7 separate regions of the Homo sapiens genome follow, and all the other regions are linked to region 3. The links are contacts of gene promoters, found by promoter capture Hi-C in blood cells and fetal thymus (Javierre and others, 2016). All regions are on one chromosome and are shown on one strand. The core of a region is centred on a gene start or on the middle of the fragment in contact, and the rest is flanking DNA. Distances in the headings are between cores, read along the strand shown.

Region 1 (3,692 bases), core at 165-2,664, 1.7 Mb before region 3:
TTTTCACTCATTCCTCAATTGATTTGGTTCCCTAGCACAGTCAAGAATGCGTTATACTTGTTTTTAAAAATCCCCTAAAATTATTTATCTGTAGATTTTGATGTACGTTCCAGAAGGTTGAATGCCCGAGTCATATACATGTAGTCCAATAGAATTAACAGCTGTAAAACCTATTAGAGTTAGTACCTTATCTATTTCTTGGCATTGGCAAAGTAGTAGTTGGTCAGGAATAATCTGATTTGATAGAAGTCAAAAGTGTGGAAAGAGAACCAAACACAGGCTAATTGCTGGGGAGAGTGCATCCAGTATGAAGAGCCATGGAAACCAGAGTCAAGACTCGGGTTCTGACTACTGCCTAGGCAATCAGCGCAGCATGCACAGCAGGGGAAGGGTGGACACCTGTGCAGAAGTTTGCTGATGCATTGGACCACAATGGCTATGGCGATGCCAACATGTCCCTTCTATCAGCCACGTAGTGTGGTCACTAAGCTGTGATTGTAGAAACTGCTCACAGCTGGATGTTGCCCAAATACTCATTTTCCATAATGTAAACAATTTATTTAAAACTACTATAATTCATGAGACTCATAAACATATATACTCTTACTCCTTTACAGCCCAGAAAAATACAAACACACATTCATACAGCTTCTGGTTGAAATTGAGACACATCTATACATATATGTGTTTTAATTTCCCCATATATATATATATATATATATATATATATATATATACACACACACACACATATGGGGGAAATCAAGCAAATTTATACTACCAATATAACAACAGCAAAAAGAAACATTAACCTTTGAGTAAGTTGTAGTGAAGCCTGTGCATGTTCCTTTTCCACAACAAGACATACTTTAGCAAAAATCTGGATCCTGCATTAGAGTTGGTCTTGGCATAGAAGTATACATTTTGTAATCCCACTTTAAGCCTTGGGTGTTCTGTATCCCTAATTGAGGGAAGGAACTTTAGCATATTTTTTAACTTAGTCCAGTTGAATGTGTTTGCTGCTACTCAACCATTAGTCTGCTAAGTCTTCAATTTCAGACAGGAATTTTATTAATGGCTCCTTATTAACACCTCTGACAACTTCATAAATAAAAATTATAACCTGAAAAAAATTCAACTTTAGACCATAAGAAATAACTAGCTATTGGAAATGGAAAACAAGTTTCACTGTTTTAACTAACAGAAGCTTCTCAGTACACAGGAATAGCATGCCTCAAATCTAAGACAAATTTTGAAATGAGCATTTATTCTTTATCTGAATGGTATTTTCCTTAAGTGTCATTTTTCAGTAGCCCAAACAGAAATAGCTCATTCTCTGAACTGTTTATCTATAAAGTTTTCCATATTTGTGTCTGTAAAATTAACTCGGTTTTTCTTATAACAATGAAAACACGGTCTAATTTACCATGCCAAAAGTTACTGTAAAGATTACAAAAAAACATGTTGCAGAAAGATGACTTAGGGTTAGTTTATCATGTAATGAAGATAAGAAGACCAAGGACAGTTTCTATTTGGCAGGCTGTAAGTAGAGACATATTTAGCAAAAACAGTTAAACAGAAGAAGTAAGTTAGAACCAGGAAGGTAAGTTCTATACCTCTAAAAGCTTTTTATCCAGATGAGTTAGATGCATTTAATAATTATATTTCTGAAAAACAGTTACAACATTTATTAAGATACATTAGGTTGGTTATTATTTTGTATCCTTGTCTGAGACTTCCCATTTTAATAAATATTAAGATGGTGTGTCTCTATAAATTTAGAAAAATCATAATTATAATAATAAATGCATTCTAGGTGAGCAATGTGCCCTCCTTTCTCATACAGTATGGGTCTGGATACAAAGTCCTTTGCAACAACCTGGCTGGGAATCGACGAAAACGGCCATAGGGCAGAGGAGTAAGATGAGCGTACCAGCCTCTCCAGGATGCCTGTAGCCCATCTTCCTTCTCTCCCAAGAAAACAGCTCCACGTCCTATTGCTAAGCTGTAGCATATGCACGCTGGGGCCCAGGGATTCTCAGAATCGCAGAAGATACAAAAATTTAACCTCCTAATTTAGGTTAGGAATGAGGAATGAAGGACATTTTACTTATCTTACTTCTCAGGAGAAGATAATGAAAAATCATCTCTACATTCTGAACTTTTTAAAATTTATTTTACTGCCCCATGAAATTATCAGAGGACGTTACATTCTTTGCGAGCTTTTCCAATTCATATCACGTTTTCTTTCCTATTTTTCTGTCATTTATGAGAACAAGTATGGTGTCAGCACACTCATGCATGCATGCATTCTTGGATTTATTCAATTATTTATTCAGAATAATTTAGTTGTCACCACTGTGCCCCAAGCCGAGTGATTGATCTTAGAAATCAGTGGTGAAAAATGTCCCTTTTCCACTCAATTGATAGAACAAGAAAGATAATTATATAACTAACTAGATGATAATAGACATGAGAGTGAAGCATCCTAGGAACAGAGAGATGATGGCAATTAAATCAGCCTGACAGTGGGCTTCTTGAGACTTGCTATTGCTTCCAGTAAGGTTTGGTTTCATCAGAGTGAACAGGCAACCTACAGAATGGGAGAAAATTTTTGCAATCTACCCATCTGACAAGGGGCTAATATCCAGAATCTACAAAGAACTTAAACAAATTTACAAGAAAAAAACAAACAACTCCATCAAAAAGTGGGCAAAGGACATGAACAGACACTTCTCAAAAGAAGACATTTATGCAGCCAAAAAACACATGAAAAAATGCTCACCATCACTGGCCATCAGAGAAATGCAAACCAAAACCACAATGAGATACCATCTCACACCAGTTAGAATGGCAATCATTAAAAAGTCAGGAAACAACAGGTGCTGGAGAGGATGTGGAGAAATAGGAACACTTTTACACTGTTGGTGGGACTGTAAACTAGTTCAACCATTGTGGAAGTCAGTGTGGCAATTCCTCAGGGATCTAGAACTAGAAATACCATTTGAGCCAGCCATCCCATTACTGGGTATATAGCCAAAGGACTATAAATCATGCTGCTATAAAGACACATGCACACGTATGTTTATTGCGGCTCTATTCACAATAGCAAAGACTTGGAACCAACCCAAATGTCCATCAATGATAGGCTGGATTAAGACAATGTGGCACATATACACCATGGAATACTACGTAGCCATAAAAAATGATGAGTTCATGTCCTTTGCAGGGACATGGATGAAACTGGAAACCATCATTCTCAGCAAACTATCACAAGGACAGAAAATGAAACACTGCATGTTCTCACTCATAGGTGGGAATTGAACAATGAGAACACTTGGACACAGGGCGGGGAACATGACACACTGGGGCCTGTCGGGGGGTGGGGGGCTGGGGGAGGGATAGCATTAGGAGAAATACCTAATATAAATGTCGAGTTGATGGGTGCAGCAAACCAACATGGCACATGTATACCTATGTAACAAACCTGCACGTTGTGCACATGTACCCTAGAACTTAAAGTATAATAATAATAAACAAAGAATATGAATGGAAAACTATTAAACCCATTTATGCCTAGTTTCCATTATTGGAACACTAAGTTTGTGGGAGTTATTTATGTCCTACTGCTCAAGGTCATCGTCAAAATTGCATACATACATACAAAAATTGCAAACTCTGGCATAAATGGG
Region 2 (3,904 bases), core at 1,173-3,672, 1.7 Mb before region 3:
ATAAATAGATGCAAATATAATTGGTATGTGTATATATTCACATGGGTGCATATATGTACATATACATTTTTAATATCAACATTTAAATTAAGCATTTTCTATTTGCAAAACAAAGTAATTTGTAATATAAAATGTTAAATATATATTTTTGAAACATATAAATACTTGAAGTGTTAGTTTCATGAATATTCTTGAAGTGTAAGTGTAGTTTAGTTTTTGGCAGATAATTTTTAGAGCAATTTTAAAATTAAAAGCTGCCAAATATCATTTATTCCTTTTTACTAGGAAAATAAATGCAATGGATAATGGAAAACTTGCTTCAATTTTTAAAGTATTTAAATTATTTCTTCATCAAATAGAAAAACTGGCCCATTGAATTTTATTATTTTTATTTCCTTTTAAGATGGAGATAACAATGAATTCCGAATAGTAAAATGATAGGTGATAGAGAAAAGGCAAAAAAAAAAAAAAAGATTAAATCATTAAATAATAAGATAGCTGAATATCTATAAATTAATATCAGAAGTAGAACTGGAATAAAACTTCACACTATGTCCATGTAAGTGTTTACAAAATGCCTCACTAAAAGAACAGACCTGATTTCTGAAGGATTTATTGTGCAAAGTAACTTTGTTAACAAGTACAATAAATTAAGTCTAATTTTCCCCTTGAGTTTTTATCCATTTAAATCTACCAACATAATTGCTCCTAGTCCTATTATATATTTGAATATAATTTATTTCTAAAATATCTGAAAAATATTTTAAATAAAGAATTGGGCTTTTATATGGTTATCTGGCTAGTAATAATCACAAGTATTTATGTAAAGAACAATGCAGAAAGCTTATAGCAACTGCGTGCAGTGAGCTTATGGACCTGGAACCTGGGGGTGTATTAGTTTATGTCCACGATTCTGCTAACTCACTTTGAACCTAAGGCTGACATGGAAGATGCAGGATACCTAGAGAAATCTAAATTTCATATAAACAACAAATCATGTTGTATTAGTTTGTTCTCACACTACTATAAAGAACTACCTGAGACTGGATAATTTATCAAGGAAACAGGTTTAATTGACTCATAGTTGTGCAGGGCTGGGGAGGCATCAGGAAACTTACAATCATGGTGGAAGGGAAAGCAAACACGTTCTTCTTCACGCGGCGTGATAGAGGAGGCGGGCAGGGAAGTGCTGGGAAGGGAAGGACTTGGTCCCTGGTGAGGGCTCCTCCCCAGCCTATGCCCACGGACCTAGGTGAGGACAGTCACTCGTGCCTTCATGCCCAAATGTTGCATTTCCCAAGACTACCCTGGCCCACCATGCTCCCATCCTGTGCCTATAAAAACCTCAAGAACCTAGCAGGCAGCCACACAAGCGGCTGGACGTGGGGAGGAGTGGATCAGTGGAAGAAGACACAAGTGGCTGGACGTCAGGAGAATGTCCAGGGGAGCACGCTGGCAGAAGAGCCCACTGACAGACGCCAGCACATAGGCAGGCCATTTACTGGTGGAATTATGCAGTTGTTGGGGGGCAGGTGTCAGAGAAGTGTCAGGCGCTTGGCTGCCTGACTCCATGGGAAAACCATCTCCCTTCTGGGTTTCCCATCTTCTGAGAGCTACTTCCACTTAATAAAACCTTGCACTCATCCCCCAAGCCCACCCGTGTTCTGATTCTTCCAGTACACCAAGGCAAGAACCCCGGGATACAGAAAGCCGTCTGTCCTTGCAACAAAGTAGAGGGTCTAATTAAGCTGGTAAACACAAGCTGCCTACGGACGGCTGAACTAAAAGAGCACCCTGTAGCACACACCCACTGGGGCCTCAGCTATCAACATTCACCTGTAGACACTGCTGTGGGGTCAGAGCCCCACAGTCTGCCCATCTGTATGCTCCCCTGGAGGTTTGAGCAGCGGGGCACTGAAGAAGCAAGCCACACACACACTGTGAGGGAGACAAAGGAACTTTTCCTGTTGCAGCAGCAGGAAAGAGAAGCACCAAGCAAAGTGGGAAAAGCCCCTTATAAGACCAAGACCATCAGATCTTGTGAGAACTCACTCACTATCATGAGAACAGCATGGTGGTGACTACCCCCATGATTCAATTACTTCCCACCAGATCCCTCCCATGACATATGGGGAGTATCAGAACTACAATTCAAGGTGCGATTTGGGTGGGGACACAGCCAAACCATATCACATGTTTTACTATAAATATGCCATATGTAAGATTTAGGACATCACTCCAAAACATGATTAACTAAACATTCTATATTTTTGTTGGTTAAATCTGATCTATGGAAGCCTTATTCTTTTTTGGTTAGTCCATCAGAGATGTTCTTGAGAATAAAGACATTATAGCCTTATCTTCTATATAGCCTTGTCTTGTCCAATTAATCTTAAATCATGCATGCCTAGATTCTCTGAGCATTAAAATTTACGTGGTCCCTGTTACACAAATTCTTCTAAATGAATCATAGCAGCATCACCATAACAAGAGTTTTCATCATACGTAACATTCAAAATTATGCAGTTTTGGAATAGTTGTTCTTATTAGAAAGAGATACTCTTATCTGTACATGTGAGTTTTTTTTTCTACAAGATATCATTTCCAATGTCTTTCCATTTTAACTCAGTGTTCAAGGAGGCAAAACAGAATTAGAGACAAGACAGAAGCATGTTCTCATGTCATGTTCTCATGGAGAGTGGCTATCTTTCTGAATTGGAATCACCTGATAACCCACTCAACTAGCTCATTGACTAGACGATTAACAGCTGACAGGTTAGTGATGTTTAGTAAATGCAGTAAATGTGATTGGAAGTGATGAGGTAGGAGTTACTCTATAAAACAGAATGACAGAGGTTTTGTCTATAAAACATTAGACTATGTAGACTATTAACTCTATGGAAATCTAATAAGCCATGTTTACTTTATTTAACCTATCCCAAGTAATTTTAGGCTGCTTTAGCCATTATGTGGTTTCTCCAAGAATCATTGTGAAAAGTGATCGCATTTTATTTCTACTGACTTTGATGGTTTTGTTCTGCATTTCTTACTTAAAATGCTGCCTAAAGATAGGAAAAGATACCTTCTACAGTATAATTATCTGGGATGTCTTACATAAATGGTCTTAAAATAGATCTCTGGTGTGACAATCTTCTAATGCTCTCTTTTCAGGTTCTCATAGAACATGCTATACGGAAATTTTCTTTTTATAGTTAATTATGCTTTCATGACAAAAGCCAAAGAGATAGCTAAAAACAAGCAGAATTCCTTATGAATTCTATGAATTATGCAGAATAAGTTTCTCTCTGTTAAAGTAAAATTTGCTTTAGCAAATATACTTGTGCTAAAATATCTTTTACTTATGTCTTATTTTCTAAGTATGATCTGAAATTTTCTCTGTAGATTTGAGAAATTATCAGCTCTAATTTTTCTAGTCATGCTTATTCAATGGTCACTCTGTTTTTAACCATTACCATACAGTATTTGGCACATAATCTAGTCATTTCTGAATTTAATTTCCAGAGAGGGGATGCACATAGTGTGAAGGACATCTTTCTTTTTATGAAGGTGTATTTAAGGAGCAAACAGCAAACTGTACTTAGAGTCTGATAATACTGGGTTTCAACCATAGCTTTCACATTTATAATCCTAAGGGATTTACCTAACCTTTCTGAGGTTCAGTTTTCTCATTCATAAAATGAAACAAAATAGATAATTCAAATATTTAATTTAAAGATTAAAGTCTTTAAAATATCAACGGGAGTGACTGATACTCAGTGAGTGCAGCAGTGATTATATCTGAGCCTCAAGTCCCCTGTGGGACAGGCTTTTTTATGGGTATCTCTCTAATTTTTCAGAAAACAAATGAAAATGAATCAAATGGAAATAATTTTAAAAAACTAAA
Region 3 (3,892 bases), core at 1,196-3,695:
CAAGACATTAGAATATATTAAATAAAATGCCTATTGTACGGCACCCAGGAATTTAGAGTACAGGTGGCTGCTAGTCCTGGTCCCTTCTCCCTCCTAAATACTATTGGCAGTTTGTGTCTTCTCTCAAACCAGAGAACCATATAGCTCCTCTATTTGCCGTATTTCATTCCTGAATTTCTTGTCTGCTATACATGCGAAACCTGCTAAATGCTTCTATTTATTCTTTGCATACCAAGTTTCTTTTCATTTTTCCTACATATCTTAGCTTTCTAGTGAAAGGCAAGTTATTACTCTTTGGAGGTCTCCTTTGTTTTCACATGTAGAAATTATCTCAGCAATGTCTTAGGTAACTTTTCATACATCCATCTGTTGATAGCTATTTGAGATCTTTACAGCTAAGGGCCTTGTTGCAGACCCAAAAGTTGTATTCTACAAAATCAAGGTTTAATTTGAAACGATTACTTGAACTTTGTTTTCATATGTATCACTGACAGTTCTAAGTACAGGAAAAATGAGTGTTGCATGTGTTTTAAAGGAGTGTTGGAAGCAAAACAGCTCCAGGTACAGCTTCCTCTGTAATATTAGTGCTCCAGTCCTACCTTTTAGTAACTTTGGTTTTAGAAACAAGCTGTGTGTGTGTGCTGGAAAATCTACCTAACACAAACCCAACTACAGAAAACTACAAACCACGCAGTCAATTCAGCACACATATACTCGCCTCGAGAAAATCATAAATTCAGTAACGTTCTTGCTTCATGAGCACTTTCTAAATATTCACTGAAGAACTGACCAAGTACGGCTGGTTCAATAGGGAGTTAGTAGGACTGTTCAAATCTACTTTTCAATGCGGTTTTTGGAAACTGAATACCCAGAGCATCAAAGTACGATGATCATAAAGCAAAACACACAACAAATCCCTAAATTTTAAAACCCAAAAATTCCTTTAGTTTGGGATTATTTATCCACATCTACTTTCATAGCCAGAAATACTTGAGAGCTGACATTTTCGGAAACACACTCTAACTCTAGTTTTCACTAAATATCCTTCATGGGAGCAACGCCAAAATAAAATCAACCCTTCAAGTGTCTTCTGAAGAAGCACAGTGTAAGGGAAACAACAAAACTGCACGTGTTTGCTACAGGAATAGAAAGCAAGTTAAAAAAGCGGTAGGCTTTGGGATGGTGATTACACAGGTGAATTCAAAGGTCAAAAAACTCATCGCACTGTACACTTAAGGTCTATGCTTTTTTTTTTTAACATCTCAAGGAAGGGGTGAGGGTGTAGGCTCAAGGGGAAAAAAGCAATCCCAACACCTTAACAACAGGAATACACTAAAGTGAAAATGCATTTTTCTGGCGGACCACCTAAAGTGTATGATTCCCGAGATTAGTTAAGTCCTGTCCCAAATTTGAGCTTCAATAGAATGCTTCTGGCCAGCTGTGATTCGCATCTCAAAGGTTAATTCCCTTCTCTCTCCTCCTCAAGCCGACCAGCAAACGCTCACCACCCTCCACATCTGCAGGCCGGCTCGCTCCCGGCCTCACAAGCCAACGCAGCTCTCCGACCTCACTCCGAACTCCACCCCTACTTCCGGGACACCACTCCTCTCTCGCGCCAAAATCGCCTTCTCTTAAACCCTTTCTGCTCAAGCCCTCGAATTTTCCATCCCGAACAACTTCTGGGTCTGTCCCACCCCAAGCTTTCCAAACGCCAAGCCTGCCCGCCCCGCCGCCGCCTCTCCGACCCGTTCCCGCGCCCGGTCCCCAGCCCCGGACCGTCCCCGCCATTCTCCCGGCCCGCACCGTCCCGCCCCGGCCCCACGCCCTCGCCCCGCGCCCTGCTCTCCGCACGCCCCGGTCCCTCCCCGCGCGGGCACTCACATTTTTCGCTGCCGCTCGAACTCCGCTTTCTTCTCCTCCTCCTCTCGCTTCTGCTTCTCGTCCAGGCTGCTGCGCTTGCTCACCGTGCGCCCGAAGATGTCGATGCGGTCGGGCGGGGACGAGGCGCGCTCCCGGTCCCGCTCGCGCCGGGACACGGCCGTGTTGGTGGAGCGCGAACGGGACCGCGACTCCCGCCGCCGGTTCCGTTTACTTTCCCGAGATTTGGAACGCTTCCGCACGCGCTCCTTGTCCCGGGATCGCGACCGGGACCGGCTGCGCTTCTTGTTGTGCTTGCTGCTCTTGGTGTGCTTGGAGCGGGACGAGCTCCGGCTCCGAGACCGGCCCATCCTTCCGGGAGACGCTCTAACCGCTCGCCTCAGGCCCCTCACGCGGCCAGTTCCCCTCGCCTCCGCCTTCGGACGCGGGCTGGCGGTTCTACCGAGGCCGGAGGAAAGAAAGGTGTCGGCCAACGGACTTTATGCCTTTTCCCGGCGTCTACAGCTGCCACGAAGGCCGCCTCCAACGAGAAACCCGTAGCGCCAGGCGCCCCTAAGATGGCAGCTGCGGCTGCACCGGCCGCCCTTCCCACAATGCCCTGCGCGAAACGTGCCGAAGCGTGGGCCCCGCCTCCTGACGATTTTTGCCGAAGGCAGGCGAGCGCTTCGGAGCGGACTCGTTTTTTTCCGCCAGTCTTGGCGGAAGCCTGAGACGCAATAGATGGAGACTCTCCTTTTCGCCTTGGCGTACTCTTTTTTTTTTTTTCCTCCCTGGTAAGATGCCAACGCCTGTTGAATGAATTAAGCACGTTTTAGTGGGATTTAAGTCCGGCCTCGCAGAAGTTGATTGATTGCATTATTTTCTAGGAGCTGGTCTTGTGGGGCAGCCCTAAAATGTATCTCCAAGTGACCCTGCACTCATCACTTGCTGCCTTGGACTTAGTTTCCTCATTCGTAGAATGGAGACACCACACTTTCTGAAGTGCTTATGAGACTTGCAGGAGGTAAGTAGGCAGCAGGTTTTGATGAATGTAACCTAATGCTTACTATAGGGCTTAATGTGCCTTCTAAATGCTTTAATGTATTAACAAGTGCTTAATTCTTACAATTCTGAATTAAGTACTACTATTATCCACGTTTCAGAGATGAGGACCCTGAGGTCCACAGAGGTTAAATAAGGGTCACACAACCAGTAGGTGACAGAGCAGGGACGTGAACCTAGATCATATTGTGCAAAGCCCTTGCACATAACCAGCAAGCCCTCCTCAACCCTAGCCACGAAAAGCTTCGTCCCTATGTGGCACAACAAACTGTGTCATTGTTAAGACCTAAAAGGAAAAGGCAATGTTAATATTTGCAGATGACAGGAACCCTTGAAAATCTAGGTGCCTCAATTTTAAAATTGAGTGCAATAATAAAGCTTAAGTAAGTAGAAGAAAAATTAGAATTATTTGAATAAGCAAAAACATATTAAAAATGAAATAATATTTCCTCCACAATGGCAACAGAAACCATAAAATACTTAGGGATAAACTTTAACAAGTTACACAATCTTTATTATAAACCTTTACTGAAAAGGCAGTAATAAGGCCCTAGTAAATGTAAAACATGCTGTATTCTTAGGTGAGTAGTCAGTATCAAAAATACTGTCAATTCTTCCCAAGTCAAATTACAAAATTAGTGCAATTCTCATGAGAGTCCCAAATTCTCTTGGGGATATGTGTTTTAGAACTAATTAATTTTAAGTTTTATATGGAAGATCACATAATTAATTATCAAGAAAACTTGGAAACAAAGAAGAGTAGTGTATTAGTCTGTGTTGACTGCTGTAACAAAATATCATAAACTAGGCAGCTTATGAACAACAAATTTATTTCTCACAGTTCTGAAAGTTGGAAATCCAGGATCCAGGTGCTAGCCAATCTGGTCGCTGGTGAGGACCCAGAGATTCACAGATGACTCACAGAAGGCACCTACTCACAGTGCCCTCACATGATAGAAGGGGAAAGCTAGCT
Region 4 (3,647 bases), core at 219-2,718, 2.0 Mb before region 3:
GCACTATACCTAAAGTATTTGATTTATTCCTCCCCAAACCCTAGGAAATTGGCATAATTATTACTCCCATTTTTCTGAGTGATTGTGATGTTCCATTCAAGGTCCAATGATCTTCCCTTCAGTTTGGTTTCCTGAGGACGTCACAGTAGCTATGACGGAAACTTTAGTGTGAGTATGTCTTGCCTTATGGGATCATTGCATTGCTCTATTTCATAAGCATATTTTACATGCTCTAATGAAGCTGACTTTTTAAAGATTTCTTGATGTAAAAATTTCATAAATCAATTTTTGTCTTGTGTTTTTTTCATACATTAAGCGAATGTTTATTTTAGAGTATCTACTTTCTGCTCACTTGTAAAAATAAGTGTGAAGTAGAATTAATTATGACATTTACTCACAGGGCTCTCTAAAGCTAAATCTGGCAATAACAATAAATAAAATCTGCCAAAGAAATGGAAAATAAAGAAAACATGAGACATAACCTGAATTGTGTTATATCAATCTTAAATGCTTATTAATGCTCTTCAAGGATTCTTATGATCAGAGAACTTTTCTGTGTGTGAGGAGGGAACTGAAATAGGACAAAAAGAAAAAGCCAGATTACAAAATGAAGAGGAAAAGTTCGTTGAAGAAACTTCAGGAGACAGCTCAGAGATGAGAAGATGTGGGAATCCAAACTAGAGGGAAAGTTCAGCTGAGGAGTGCAAGGAGGGTGCTTTGCCGTGTGGTTTAAAAAAAATAAATACATAAATAAAAATATGCTGAAGACTCTGGAGCCAAGGACAAGCGACACTGGAGATAAGAGATTGGGTTCAAGAATAAAGGTTGAGACACAGATGTGTGACTTCCCATTAACATAAAGGTGCTATTTCTTCAGAATCCGTCCATTGTTTTCCCAATGGAAAACAGATTAAGTACATAATCTCATCCTCCGACCTTTCAGATCAGATATCTTCTTTGTCAAGGGATTATTGTGAAAGTGAATTGGCTGATGTATGTGAAAGTGTTTTCTAAACACTGCTGCTCTTTACCCCACCAGTCTCATCTCCTTTTATTCTGGCAATGAACCCATTTTGCCCATCAAATATACCTTGCATATTTTTGGCTACGAACTTGCTGCTCAAATCCACAACCCTCTACAAAGGTCATTGGAAGCCTATGTGTAAGACATGGCTATTGCCTAAGCAAAGAGAATTCTGATTTGAGAAACAATTTGAAAAGAATTTCCATTCACCTATGATTAACTTATCTGGAACTTTCCTTTTTTGAAATCCAACTTTGCCTTGACCACTGAAGCTGGGTTTAGCTCTCCCTCCCTCATAATTTCCACGGTGCTTATCTGTTTGCATTTAACACTTGCATGGAGACTTTAGGATTCCAACCCTCATGCATATCTGACCTCCCAGACTTGAGTTTAATATTTGAAGATACTTAATCCAGTTTGTTAACTACTTTCACTAGCATCACCTCCAGGCTCTAGACTCTCTGACAATCTGTTCATTTGTTTTTTTGTCTTCCTATTCTGGAGTGAAATTTTCATAAACATAACGAGGTATTGGTTATAGTTGCTGCTAGATCTCCAGTGCCTAAGAGTGTGTCTGACACGTATTAAACACAAAAGCAACACCTGGTTGTAGAGTCAGTACTTGCTACCCCCAGGGAGCCCTGCTCACATATCCAGGAGTAGTGAGAACAAAGTGCTCTATGTTCCCACTTCTCTACGCAGTGTAGACCAGAAATGAACAGCTGGCCCAAGGGTAGGTTGGATTCACTCAACTGACAGTTTGTGTTAAGCAAAAGAGAGTTCATCAGCTAGTCAGTGATGAAAGTTGAAATTGGAAGGCCATGAGATTTTTGGAGATGGGGCGGCTCTTTGGGACACATGCAATGTCTTATTTATTTAAGACAAAAGCTGCTAGAAGAAGACAATGAGCCCATAATCAAATAGTGGCAATAGGGAGAAAGATGGCCAACTATTCCAATGAAATACTGAATTAGGAGAGATTAACTGAGCATGAGGAAAAAAATCTAGGAAAGGAAAACAGGGATCTTAATGCCGCCTAAAAGAGTACTAAAGGAGAATTCAGCAAACATGGGTTTCAGTCACAGATTCCCAAGGAAATGTTTTGGTGACCCACAGAAAGCCTCTGGTTTTTATAATTTCAACTTTTATTTTAGATTCTGGGGGTGCATATGCAGGTTTGTTACATAGATACATGGTGTGATGCTGAGGCTTGGTGTACGAATGATCCTATCCCCTGGGTAGTAAGCGTAGTACCAAATAAGAAGTTTTTCAAACCTTGCCCCCCTCCTTCCCTTCCAAATCTAGTAGTAATGGCAATAATAATGTCCATTACTGCCATCTTTATGAACATGAGTGCCCAATGTTTAGCTCCCACTTACAAGTGAGAACATGTGGTATCTGTTTTTCTGTTCTTACATTAATTTGCTTTGGATAATGGCCTCCAGCTGCATCTATGTTGCTGCAAAGGTCATGATTTCATTCTTTTTTATGGCTGCATAGTACTCCATGGTGTATATGTACCACATTTTCTTTAATCCACCACTGACAGGCAACTAAGTTGATTCCATGTCTTTGCTATTGTGAATAGTGAGAAAGCCCCATTATATTATGAAGCACTATGCTCTAGACGTCAGATGGAGATGATATCATTTGGCTTTACTTGCTCACTGTGCTTTTGTGGCTTTTATGGAAATATATGGAAAACCACTTTGAAAATTGGCAGTCATTGTACCATTATTAATATAATGTGCTTTTTGGGAAAATTGTTAAGAATACTAGGTTAATTTTTTTTTAAAATATACTTATGATTAAACAGACATTTCCCTGTAGTTCTTTCCTTTTGCAAATTCTTTTAAATCATTTATATTAAAATTAAAGTTAGCAAAACTTTATTAGAACTGCAAAAGATCTATTGCACTTCAATGTAAAGACACTGACAGATTAGGAGTGAAAATACATTTGAAAGATGTGAGCAGGATGTAGGAAAATAAGAAATACTAGTTACATTTTCTGTAGCATCTCTTTGAGGTAGGCACTTCCAAAACAAAGCTAATCTTTACAAATCATTTTGTAATGTAGAGGCATTATATCACATTTTACAAAAGAGGGCACCACCAGAACTGAAAAGTGCATGCAATTTAACAAATATTTAAATACTTACCATATTTTGACCCTGGGGGAACAGTGTTAAGTAAAACACAAAAGAAAACTGTGTTAGTAAAGCTTAATGGAGCAAGACATATAATATATGAATAATATATGTTTGACATATAAGTGGGGGAAGACATATATATATATAATCATGAATATATAAATAAGTATATAAATACATGAATGATAATATTTCAGAGTCATAGTGTCATAAAGAGTAAGCAAGAGTGACATGATAGTGTCAGAACATGGTCACTTTCTCCAGACCAGATGATCATGGAACTTTTTTCTAACTTGAGCTAAGACTTGCATGAAAAGAATAAACAATGTGAATTTCTGCATTCAGATAAATACAGCAGAAAGAGGGAACAAAATGAAATGACCTTGAGGGAGGACAAATTATCAAGCATAAAGGATCAGCAGAAGCAGTGCTGGTAGCACTCCATAAGAAAGAAGGAATGGAGTGGAGCTG
Region 5 (4,009 bases), core at 1,300-3,799, 1.8 Mb before region 3:
CCTATCTCCCAAAGTGCTGGAATTACAGGTGTGAGCCACCGCACCAGGCCAAGAAAAATGTCTTTAAATATGTGAAGGAAGTCCTTCACACAGAATGGAAATAATTCTAGATGGTAATGTAGATTTACACAAAGTAATAGAGAACATCAGAAACAGTAATTACATGGTTCAATATGTATGAGCTTTTCTGTTATTACTTAAATATCCTTCTGGAAGTCTGAATATTGGTGGTTTACCTTGGTCCTCTCAAGGTTTGTCTTTTAGGGTTGTCTGTTACCACAAATTAATCTAGCATATCCTCAATGATACCAACTTATTTTGTTTCCTGTATCTAATGATTCCAAACGTGTTTTTCAGTCATATGATTATACAATTATTTTGAAATTATCTTTTTAGCTTTTCTCATGCTGGATGGTTTTTTCAAGTATGTAGTGACCTTTTATTACACGTTTACATTCATTGAAACTTTACGAATGGGATTTTAGAATGTCTTAGGGCTGATCTACTTAGGTTTTACTCTTACTTTTAGGACATAGTTTATTCCTGCCTGTAGCTTTTCTCTCTAGGTCCCAGCCCTTCTGGGGCTTCAGTAGAAAACCTGGAGTATTGACCCAAGATCTTTTCACCTTGGCTGGTTGTAACCTGCAGGAGTGAATGCTGAAATGGCCTTCAGATGCTTATTCTCTTGACTGCTGTAGTCTCCTAGGTGTCCTGGTGACTTCGTCTGCACCTTTACAGCTTAAGGGTAAGCTAGCAATTTGGAGAAAATACACATACAGATTTTTTGGCTACTTCTCCTGTATTTCCTATTCTTTGGGTTCAAGACATTTTGTCAGACCTGAACTTCTATTTTAGCCTCATGGCCCAGTAAGACAGCACCTTTCACTTAGATTTTCCTCTCGCATGCCTCGATTTGGAAAATCCCTTATGAAAAAAGTAGCTAAATGTGCCAGTCAAGGAACTTAAGCCTTTGTTCATTGCTCCGTGATGGAGCCAGAGACAAAAGCCTTCTTTCAGTAACTTAGAGTCGATGCTTTAAAATACAGCAATGTACTTCTCCTAAACCAGCCTCTGCAAACAGAAACCTTGCACTGGGCTCCACAGACCATAGCTCCAATGCTCCACCCTATCATTCCTTTCTCTGTCCCACTGAGACTTTTATATTTTATTTTACTTTTTTTATTTTATTTTTTTGATACAGGGTCTCACTCTGTCACCAAGGCTAGAGTGCAGTGGCGTGATCTGGGCTCACTGCAAGTTCCACCTCCCAGGTTCAAGTGATTCTCCCACCTCAGCCTCCCAAGTAACTGGCACTTACAGGTGCCTGCCACCATGCACAGCTAACTTTTGTATTGTTTGGTAGAGATGGGGTTTCACCATGTTGGCCAGGCTAGTCTCGAACTCCTGACCTCAAGTGATCTGCCCATTTCGGCTTCCCAAAGTACTGTGATTACAGGTGTGAGCCACCACACCTGGCCAGGACTTTTATATTTTAAATTTGCTTTTTTCTGTACAGTGAATGGAGCATCACGAAGCTCAATGTGTATCATGTTGAGTAAAACGGAGATGAGGAGAATTAGGCGGATCTACTCAATATCTCTTGGTACCTTTCTGTATAAGAACACATCCCCAGGCAACTACTTGAGTACATTTTCCAAATGTTCTGGTAGCTATGAGTGGTATAAGTAGTCTGAACAATAGGGATAAACCAAGAGAATGTACACTTCTCACTATTTGCTACTGTGTAGTCAGATTACTCAAAGCTTCATGTGCCATGTCCAATCATGAGATGATCTTGGGAGTGGAAATTATGCATTAAAAAACTGACATGGTTGGAGAAGCCGAGGTCTCTGCCACTCCACACTGCATCCATACCTCTGGTATGGCAACTTCAGAACTAGGTTCATTTGATAAAGGAAACTTCTGTCTTGTTCAAAATAGTGGGTATTTTTTTAATTATTATTATTTTTATGCTACTCATAGCCACATCAAAATCTAAATTTTACATTCTTTAATTCAGATGCTATATGATGATTTCTTTGTAATCCTACATTATTCAACTGTTATATTTACGAGGACCTAGATACAGAGCAACTGGGAAAAAAAAAGTTTATAATCATGACTTTATTTTTGATTCTTTCTCTGAAAGCAATGGGTATTCATACCAGGGATCCCAGAAGCCTATGTAGTAGAGATTTTTAATAATGTCAGTGTTTTAATGAGAGAAAAGGCAATGTTAAAATGAGTGAGGCAATGTTAAAAGTCTAGGTGACATGCTTATGTTAGAAGACATGTTAAAAAATGAGCACATAAAGTTGCAAGTCAGATAATGATTATTTTAGGCACCTTTGTAAGCCTGTAAAAATGTAGTGTGATTGATATTTAGCTCATTTAAAAAATCAAGTAAATATATGCTCCTTTTGTTTCAATGTACTGTTTCAGTACATATTTTTTCTTATATTGAAGCCATTTAATTACATCCCTTCTAAAACACTTTAAGTGATTATATTTGAAATAATTTGCCTGATCTCCAAATGGCTGAAACACCTTGGTGAATTGGCAATGCAACAGATTATTTGGTCACACTGCAAATTGATTAGATTTGAGGACACTCCATTTACATAGTTAAAACGACTTTCCCCTATTTCAGTTGAAAAAAAAAAAAACAGGTTTTACTATGAAGGACATCAGGTAAATGCAATTAAATTCTCACTAAGCATTTGCTTTTAGGTGAAATCGCCCTGGTTTCTACAATCACTTGTATATGTATTTTTAGTTTGGTTTATAAAAAAGTTATGTAAATTTCCTATTTTTTTAAATCTTATTGAGATACATACTTTTCAGTTGACTCATGTTGCAGCACAGTTAGCATCTGCTCAAATTACTAGGAGGACATTAAATAAAAAGTGAGCATGTGTGCATCTTTAAGACATTAGAAATGACCAGCTGTTTTATATTCTCAGAGCCCTTTCAATAACAAAAAGCTCCCAAGTAGCTTCCAGTTAAGGGGTTTTGGAGAAATAGGTGGGGGGGCGGGGGACTGGCAGGCTGGGCTTGCAAACAAGAAGCTATAATAGTATCACTCAGCAGTCCCACATTTCCTGTGTCAAGCTGATGACTGTGGCCCTAGCAGGTGGGCATGCCAAAGGCCAAAATCCATGTCTAGGAAGGCAGAAACAATCTACAGACCCCGTTCAAATATCCCTTTACAATATAAAAGAAATTACATGTTCACTCTAATGCAATATAGAAAACTGTGGTTCCTCTTGTCCATTCAGGCTATATTATGAATCATCTTGAATACACATAGAAAAAATCCTGTTGTGTAGCAAAAGAAAGCTTTTACACTTTTCTTCTCCAACAGCTGGTAATGAGAATACTTAATTAAACTCTTGTAATATGATACCCCTGCCAACATCACTTGCTAAAGCACACTCTAAAAACGTCATTTATTCGTTCAATCCCAAAGTGCACAAGACCAATGCTGCGCAGTTCTTGTTCTCAACACAAATTTTCGACAAATATTGACTCATGTGATAGACCCAATCAGGGTATTTCTCGATGCAAGTGAGTCCTCTGAAGATGGCTCAGTTACAAATGAGTATGAAGGTGCCAGTGTCCATGTCTCTGCCCTAAGGCACTGTCAAATGGACTTCGCTGTTTCACCCAGGGGCACACACTTGCTCCCAGCTATGACAATCAAGTTCTCATCCCCAGATTTAAGAGATGTGGAATGGAGAGAGAGAAAGCCTGGTGTCTCTTATGAGGAGTCTCAGAAACGGCAGAATTTCCAAGGCAAAATCCACACATTCCTACTGCTGATTTTCTAGTGTTTTTTTGGTTTCTTCAGTAGCTTTCTGCTTCACTGAGTTCTTATTTTCATTCCATGAGCTACTGCTGTGCCACTCCCGCCAAAATATTAGTAAGAGTTATTTTTCTGTTTTTTGCAATCAAGAAAGCATTACTAATATGTAAATTAGTATATACTATACCTCTTGCCATTATTGTG
Region 6 (4,000 bases), core at 1,297-3,796, 1.7 Mb after region 3:
ACTGCGCAGCCTGTCCGCGAGTCTGAGTAAGTGCGGCTCGGGGACCCCGAGCCCGCGGGGCCCGAGCGCCGGTCCGCTCCTTCTAGGAGGGTCGCGGGGAGCCGCCGGCTCCTCCAGGCGGGCGCGAAACCCTCCCGGGAGGCTGTGGGGGGAGCCCCGGGGCTAGTGCGGCTTCCCCTGGGGGTCGTGCGGGGGCCGAGCGCCGGGGGTTGTGGAGGACCAGCCCGGGGTGCAGCCCTGCCGGCCGCCCCGACTCCGCTCACCACTCACCAGGGGAAGCAAACTGAAGCCAAATACCTGTTTTGGAAACTAAGGTGCGCGCATTGCCAGAGGCTCGCCGGGTGTCGTTTTGTAATTGGAACCTAAAACGTATCTTAGTGTTCTATGTCAATTGTATTTCCAGTAATGTGTACAAACCTAAGATCCCTAAAATCCAACCCTCCGCTCCCCCACCCTCCCACACAGACATGAAAAGTAAAATAGAATAATTCCAGCTACTAGGTTGGAGAGAGGGAGAGCCCCGATCTAATCACGACAGTAACAGGTTTAGACCTGTGAATATCATGACAGGAAGTTCTGGGGTTATTCAGGAAACATCAAAAAAGCACCCCATACAATCGAAGTCAATTTTGCTGTAGATTTTAGTCAACATTTAAGTAAAATGAATTACTAGTATTACTACCCAAGGTATCGAAACCAAAAAAAAGTCCGTCCCCATTTAACAACTCTTATTTATGTTTACTATGTGATAGTAACTGGATAGAAAGAGATGAGTATATTGGCTTTGTGTGTTGATATTGGATTTTTCACTGATCTCTTTTGACGGGAGGGGGTTCGTGGATCAATACTTATTTGTATGCATGCTTAGGGAAATCACTCGTCTTTGACTAAAATATCAAATTTTATTTTACTGTGTAAGATTTCTTGATTGCCGATTTAGTGTTAATGTCATGATATCCTACCTAAGACATCAGCTGCTCAATTAAATAATCGTTAATAGAGGCCCACTATGCATCAGGCACTGCTGCGTACAGAAAATGTAGAGTTGAATAGGACGAGGTCTCTGTCATCGAGGAACTCACAGCCTGTGTAAGCAGGTTAATTACGCTGTAATAGTAACTTCTGCCACGTAAGTTTGCACAAACTACAGAATGTGGAATGGGTGGCAGGAGGGAATAGGGGTCCAAGGAAAGCTTTCTAGAGGATCTACTACCTGAGTTTGGTTTTAACAGAGAAAGAGTGCATTGCTCTGATTACTTCCTGTGTTCAGATACGGTACCTCTAGGGAATCATATCCATTATTTGATCTAGGACTAATAGGGCTTCTAGTTGTCCTTACTTTCACATACTCTGCTATAGTACATAATTAAGTAATTTAAATTTTGTCTCATAGAAGTAGCTGCACTTAACACACTATTACATTTTATCTCAACAGTAGTTCAATTTAATCTTTCATCCTCCTTTTACATACGAGGAAATATATATTTAGAGAGGCTAAGTGAGTTGGCAAAAGCTACCTATCTCTTAACAGACCATGACTCAAAACACTGTCTCCTTTCCATTGCACCACACTGCCTCCCACTGACAGTTAACTTGGAATGATTAAAGCAAGCCAGGTACCTACAGGTAGCCCTTGGCACACTGCCCTCTTCTTGGGCACATCAAAGACCTCTTGGCATGTGGATAAGAGGGTTTACTAACCAAATTGCCCTGGGCTAACAATATAACTTAGTGATAGGTGCAGGAAACTGTTGGATCTAACATTTTCCCATGATCTCTTCTCATAACTTATCTCAGGGGAATCTATTTCTGTTTCTCTGTTTAATGTATTACCCAGATTCTGAAATCTTTCTAATCCTTGTTTAGTTGCCCCAGGAAAGTCTTAAGACCTTTAAATAGCCTTTTTTCGTGTGGACTTAAAAGATGCTCTAGTTCTTCTAAGTAAGATATTTTTCCTCAAATGACAGATTTTGTAATACATTATTATATTTTATGTTTCTGTTTCACATGGTGTGAACTCCTACAACAGTATATTCTGCTGAAATCCCTTGCAAAGATGTAGTATTTCCAGTACAGGGACTACATGCATTTATGAGCTAGCCTGAGAATCTAGATACTTCTAGTAAGGCTTCTAGTTGTACTTACTTTCACATACTCAATGTTATATAACACTGGTTTTATACAAAACAAATATTCTAAGTTTCATCCATCTAGTTTATAGGTAAAGTTTTAGAACATTGCCCATTTATAAATTGGAAACTTTGTGAATTTCATTATCAGTCTAACATCACTACAGTTTTAGGCTAGTGGATTTGTTTTAAACATTTCAGATATTTATAATCTCAGAACAAATTGTGGTTGGCTTCCATAGTAACAATAATCTCTCATTTTACTTCTGCCAGAGTTGACTCTATTTGCCAAGATTTTCAAGCATGAAAAAGCTACTAAGTAGCTGCCTGGTATAATTTTTGAGCTATCTGCTCATACAGATTTAAATCCTAGTTAAAGATGCTGTCTGAACCATCCAGTTATTATCCAGCATCTCCATAGGCAGTTACTGTTCATTTGTCCCATAGGACTATTAATACACACTTTTTCATTATTGATGGCATGTGGGTAACCATTAGGGAAATAGATAATTCATTCTGTGGTGTCTCCAACACCTTGATAGCAGCTATTTGTGTTTCCATTTCAGCTGTGCAGCTGGCATGGTTTCTTAACTTCCCAATGCTTAACAGAAGAGGAGAGAGATTGATATAAGAATACTGAATCTGAGTTCCACATTACTTCACATGTGATTGGAAGCTGTGATTCACCCAGAGTAATTAATGAGCCCATGGGGTGTGGGGTCCTCATTCTCTGCTGGGATGTGGATGTCGGCATTGACACACGAACTCCCTTTCCACTTTTTACAGTCTTCACTTGAACCTGCACATTTTTTTTAAATGTATGAACAGTTTTTATTTTTAAACAAGCTGTTCCCAAAATTATCAATCTAGGATGGACTTAAAGATCTTTAAAGAAATAATAGTGCCTTTATGACTTAGGACTTTTTAATTGTATTTGAAATTGTTTAGCCTTTTGCCAAATTGTTTTTCGGAAATTCATTGTAATTCACTATGGGTAATGCACTTTTTTGTATTTTTAAAAGACCATTTGCTGGTGGCAGAATCCGTAACTCGATATACAATATGCAAAACAATGTACACTTTTTTTTTTTTTTGAGACATAGTCTCACTGTGTCACCCAGGTTGGAGTGCAGTGGCACGATCTCAGCTCCCTGCAACCTCGACTCCTGGGTTCAAGTGATTCTCATGCCTCAGTCTCCCTAGTAGCTGGGATTACAGGCACGCGCCACCATGCCCGGCTAATTTTTTGTAATTTTTAGTAGAGACGGTGTTTTACCATGTTGCCCGGACTAGTCTCAAACTCCTGAGCTCAGGCAATCCACCTGTCTTGGCTTCCTAAAGCGCTAGGATTACACGCATGAGCCACCATGCCTGGCCCAATGTACACTTTTTAATTAAAAATAATTAGAATAACTAGAATTTAATTTGTAGGGCAGTTCTGACCTTCATTAAAATACAATTTTTATTGTAAAATGTTATCTATGATACAATAGATTTGTCTAATTTATTCTCCTACTAACCTTACGGCAATAATTACAATGTATTTACTCCTATACTTTTGAGTTTCAGTTCTTGATATATATAAGTTTTTATTTATTTTTAGTTTTTGGAGAAAATATTACTGGGTAAAAACCTTAAATATATTTATATATGTTATAATGCAGAAAGGATTTAAAAAAATGTAATATATCTTTCTTAATTTGAAGAAGGCAAGTCTCTGGGGCATAAGGCAATACAGTTATATGGTTAAATAGTATGGAACCGTGGTTCTCAAGCTTTTTGGTCTCAGACCGTTTACATTTTAGAAATGTAAAGATCCCAAAGATTTTTTTGTATGTATGTGGATTATATAGATATTTATTGTGTTAGAA
Region 7 (3,928 bases), core at 1,223-3,722, 1.8 Mb before region 3:
TTATGTTTCTAAAGCAGAGAAAAATCAGGGAAACATTTTCAAGGACTAATCTATAATGTCAGCCACTTTCTTATGTATATCTGCTAAATCCCATGTGTTGTGAGATTAGTCAAAAATGTCAGGTCAAACACTCCACATACAACAGCACATACTGATACCATTCAGCAACAATAGGATATAATAAGGCTCTGGGTTTAGGGCACTATATTTCACATGACTGGTTTTCTATAGGCCCCTATCTTATTGGCCCAGCATTTCAATGGAAATTGTGTATTTAAAGTATTCTTGTTTTTTAGTAATTTCTTCCCTGATCCCAAAATAAATTTTAAATAGCCCCTTGTTAAATTATCTTAGGATCAGCTTGTAACCCATCCCTCAGGTAAATATATATATATAGCTTAATGAGTATAATTTTTACTCAAGCTGTATATATATGTATATATATATACATATATGTATATATATAGTTACATATATATATGTGTGTATATATATATAGGTTTTAGTGGTTCCAATTCCAATTTTCCTTATATATCTAGAGACCAATTTGTGGTACCTGCCATGAGAGGAAAATTCTTTCAGTCTATTAGGTATGACCAAGTTATTAGAAGTATTGGTGCCCATTCACTTGGTTCCAGGTTTCTAGAGGCATAGGCAAGTGAGACGGAGTGGAGTAGTTCTTTCAGAGGGATAGGAGCCAGCAAGGGTCTCTGGGCTTGGAAATATATTTTACACTTTCCATCAATTCCTGGTGAAATGGTGAGCTGTTCAGACCCTCACAGTGTATTAGCTATCCTTATGGAATTTTACCACTATGTGAGCTGTTCCCTTCATTGCAAAAGGGGATGTGTGAATGCCTTGATTTTGATACTTAGCTGCAGTGTTACTCCTGGACCTGTTCATCCAGGTACAGTGTTTCTTTTGTGCAATTTAACATAGGGTTCTGGAATGAGAGGTATGCCTCCCATATTAGAGAACAATATTATTTCACATAAACAACATTAAGACTGATTAGTCACAGGTGGCCAATAAGCAATGTCAATATTTTTACTGGTGTAAATAGACTCCCTCTTTTGGTGTCTCGAATTATCTGAGAGTGCCACTCCCGGAAAACTAGAATATGGTTGCAATTACTGCTCTAAAGTAGGGCTGGCTTTCTATATTACCATGTTTCTACCATAGGATATATACTGACTGAATAAAAATTTTTACTAAACTCTATTACAATTGAATGATAGATCCCTTTACTCACCACATGTGCCACTAGATTCTCCATTCCTCCACTTGGAAGGTTCTAGTGCTGGAGCCATAAGTTTGTGAAGAGAAGAGAGAAAAGAAAACAGTTCAAGTTTTCTCCAAATTACCTCATAAGATGAGCTTCAAATGTCTACTGCCCATGGTGTTTGTGTGCTTAAAATATTAAGCAATAACTATTCAGGACTCATAGCCTTTAGAGTGACAGGAGAGGCAGCTCTGACTACTCTTTCTGCCTGGACTGTTAACGCCTTGAAGAGTAAGGTGCACTGAATGTCAGTCTTTGAACCAGTCAATCAAATTTCCTAGTCAACACTACCGATGCTCTTGAGTGAGGGGATGATGTCACTCTCCTCTCCTTGGTTTCCTAAGATAATTCTGGAAAGACAAAACAAAATAGCATCTGCCGTTTTGTTTCCGGTGCTACAAGAAGTTAATTAGTGGAAGAGTAAGGTTAGAAGCAGAAGGAAGGTGGCTTCCCTGAGCCAGCCTGATCTCTTCTTGCCCTACTTTCATTTGGGTACTTCTGAGCAACATATTGGGCAGCTAGAGTTATATGTATCCAGATGTTAACTTACCTCAATACACAGATAATACCTGTGTATACCTACATATGCAATCCTAATTCATTGTCCCCAGGGCTGTGTCCTTTAATCTCTCAATTGGGGAGATCAGATCTCTTTTTATTCTTCCTCCTGTGGTTGATTGCAGAGAGGAGTTGCTAATCATGCCAGTTCTTTTTTCCCTGGATTTGGTGGCAAATAAAGCTTTGCTAAATGGCTCCTACACTTCCATTAATATCTCATTGAATCCACTATTGCCTGATACTCTGGATCTAGAACACTCTCCACTGCCACCACCTCTTGTCTCATGGATCACAAATCTGGAGCTCAAATGGACATGTTCACACCTTCACGGGGAAGCACTTTGTTACATTCAACCAATTTATCTAAGTTTCTGTGGGCAAGTTAGAAATATTGTAGTTACTTCCTGTGTGGAAAAGCTGTTTCAGAATACGTAAAACAAATCCAACATAGAGTTCCTTCACCACACCATTCCAGCAGCACCTACTTAATAAAGCTGGGCACGGTAGCTCATGCCTATAATCCCAGCACTTTGGGTGGCCAAGGCTGGCAGATCACCTGAGGTCAGGAGTTGAAGATCAGCCTGGCCAACAGGGCAAAACTCCGTCTCTACTAAAAATACAAAAATTAGCCAGGCGTGGTGCCAGGCTCCTGCAGTCCCAGCTACTCAGGAGGCTGAGGTAGGAGAGTTGCTTGAACCCAGGAGGTGGAGGTTGCAGTGAGCTGAGATCGTGCCACTGCACCCCAGCCTGGGCAACAGAGTGAGACTCCATCTTGCAAAAAAAAAAAAAAAAAAAAAAAAAAAAAAAAAAAAAAAAAAAGTAGAGGCTGATTCTAGCCTTACAATTCCTTTTCCCTGACTCTATCTTTTGAAGGTTTCCTTGGTTGTAAATGCTGATTGCCTGTGCAGTACTTCTAAGAAGCCTAGTCTTTAAAAACCCATAGCTTTGTTGTATCCTTCCTGCTGCACAGGGTAATAAGGACGGTGGAAATGCCACACAATGAGACTACATTTTGCCCAAATCTAAATGTCATGGGCAGAGAAGCATGATTTCTGGTAGGAAGCAATGGTAGCTAGAGTTCTACAAGCTTTATTAAATTATCTGCCTACATTCTTTACTCCTGACTGCCAAGATCCTATAGACAGTAAATAGCTTTTTAAGTCCTGATTGAAAATACGTAACAATGAGCCTGCTCAGATGTCTGAGTGAATTTGCTCATACTTCTGTCAAAGAATGGCATATTCTCATGACAGCTACCCCATTGTTCTCCTTGCCTTACTCCTTTTAAGACAATCAGTACATTTCGTGTAGGGAAGCACGGCCTTTCTAGCTTGCTTATTTAAGGACACGCCTTGTGACCTCTGTGGGGCGTGTCAAGGTATTAGTTGGCAAATTACATGGTAAGCTAAAGGCAAGCCATTTCTGTGAACTTTCGGCCATTCTTTTGTATCTCTAAAATACACCACATCAGATTTTATCAGGTAAGCTTAGACATGCCTCTTAATACCCTAGGTCATGTCTGCTGAAAGTCAGGCAAGTCAGCAAGTTTCAGCCCCGTTTCCCAGGGAGCAGTATAAATAAAGATCCATCTATGCCTTCTTGGGATAGAGATATCCCAGATATCTGGTAACTGGACTACTAAGATTCCAGCCATTGTACTCATGCTCTGGGGTATCTGTTAACATTCCACCTGTCGCAGGAACATGGCTGCTGTGTGTGCCAATGCTACTACCTGTGAGAGTGGTAGACTGTTCTATTTCGGACTACAACTTCTGCTTTTCTTCTTACCGCAAGGCCTTCAGTGGAGTTCAGGAGAACAAATCCCCAAAGGCTGAGTGACAAGTATTCTTTACATTTCCAGCTCTTAACCTGAGTGGGCTAGGATTGTGACTACTCTGGTTGTACTATTGACCACTGATTCCTGAACCCAGCTAAATTTATATTCAGTTACCTGTTGTTACTCGAAGCACAGTTGGATTGGAAAAACATCCTAAACTCCCAGTAAACTGCTTTTCAAATAAACCACTACTCTAAAAGCCAAGTGCTATTGATATGGTTTGGATATTCATCCCCTCCAAACCTCAGGTT

Evidence for each region. The method cuts DNA at HindIII sites, captures the fragments that hold promoters and counts their contacts. A CHiCAGO score of 5 or more calls a contact.
Region 1: a contact is called between a fragment that was not itself captured here and the fragment with the promoter of ARGLU1 in region 3, in 1 of 17 cell types (fetal thymus). The highest score is 7.8, in fetal thymus.
Region 2: a contact is called between a fragment that was not itself captured here and the fragment with the promoter of ARGLU1 in region 3, in 1 of 17 cell types (fetal thymus). The highest score is 6.0, in fetal thymus.
Region 4: a contact is called between a fragment that was not itself captured here and the fragment with the promoter of ARGLU1 in region 3, in 1 of 17 cell types (fetal thymus). The highest score is 7.2, in fetal thymus.
Region 5: a contact is called between a fragment that was not itself captured here and the fragment with the promoter of ARGLU1 in region 3, in 4 of 17 cell types (fetal thymus, naive CD8 T cells, monocytes and 1 more). The highest score is 10.8, in fetal thymus.
Region 6: a contact is called between a fragment that was not itself captured here and the fragment with the promoter of ARGLU1 in region 3, in 2 of 17 cell types (total CD4 T cells and naive CD8 T cells). The highest score is 6.7, in total CD4 T cells.
Region 7: a contact is called between a fragment that was not itself captured here and the fragment with the promoter of ARGLU1 in region 3, in 1 of 17 cell types (fetal thymus). The highest score is 8.0, in fetal thymus.

What each region holds. Positions count from the first base shown.
Region 1 is chr13:104,817,016-104,820,707 of GRCh38, forward strand. All of the region lies in intron 3 of LOC107984606 (a long non-coding RNA gene), which reads right to left. Among named protein-coding and RNA genes, the nearest start is that of DAOA, 650 kb to the right of the region's middle. The HindIII fragment of the contact is 418 bases long and covers 1,206-1,623 here.
Region 2 is chr13:104,864,964-104,868,867 of GRCh38, forward strand. All of the region lies in intron 1 of LOC107984608 (a long non-coding RNA gene), which reads left to right. It overlaps LOC105370342 (a long non-coding RNA gene), which reads left to right. Exons shown (of 3, transcript XR_931691.3): 2 at 2,630-2,775. Among named protein-coding and RNA genes, the nearest start is that of DAOA, 600 kb to the right of the region's middle. The HindIII fragment of the contact is 3,163 bases long and covers 842-3,904 here.
Region 3 is chr13:106,565,692-106,569,583 of GRCh38, forward strand. ARGLU1 (arginine and glutamate rich 1) reads right to left here and starts at 2,446. Exons shown (of 4, transcript NM_018011.4): 1 at 1,882-2,446. The coding sequence starts at 2,228. RefSeq lists a silencer at 1,608-1,907 and enhancers at 1,802-2,712, 2,388-2,507, 2,518-2,587. The HindIII fragment of the contact is 1,462 bases long and covers 1,699-3,160 here.
Region 4 is chr13:104,579,886-104,583,532 of GRCh38, forward strand. No RefSeq gene overlaps it. Among named protein-coding and RNA genes, the nearest start is that of DAOA, 880 kb to the right of the region's middle. The HindIII fragment of the contact is 3,554 bases long and covers 1-3,245 here.
Region 5 is chr13:104,776,534-104,780,542 of GRCh38, forward strand. The region is part of intron 3 of LOC107984606 (a long non-coding RNA gene); the gene reads right to left. Among named protein-coding and RNA genes, the nearest start is that of DAOA, 690 kb to the right of the region's middle. The HindIII fragment of the contact is 1,576 bases long and covers 1,762-3,337 here.
Region 6 is chr13:108,218,634-108,222,633 of GRCh38, forward strand. ABHD13 (abhydrolase domain containing 13) reads left to right here. Exons shown (of 2, transcript NM_032859.3): 1 at 1-26. Among named protein-coding and RNA genes, the nearest start is that of ABHD13, 2.2 kb to the left of the region's middle. RefSeq lists a silencer at 42-281. The HindIII fragment of the contact is 2,711 bases long and covers 1,192-3,902 here.
Region 7 is chr13:104,759,456-104,763,383 of GRCh38, forward strand. LOC107984606 (a long non-coding RNA gene) reads right to left here. Exons shown (of 5, transcript XR_007063859.1): 4 at 1,253-1,300. Among named protein-coding and RNA genes, the nearest start is that of DAOA, 700 kb to the right of the region's middle. The HindIII fragment of the contact is 906 bases long and covers 2,020-2,925 here.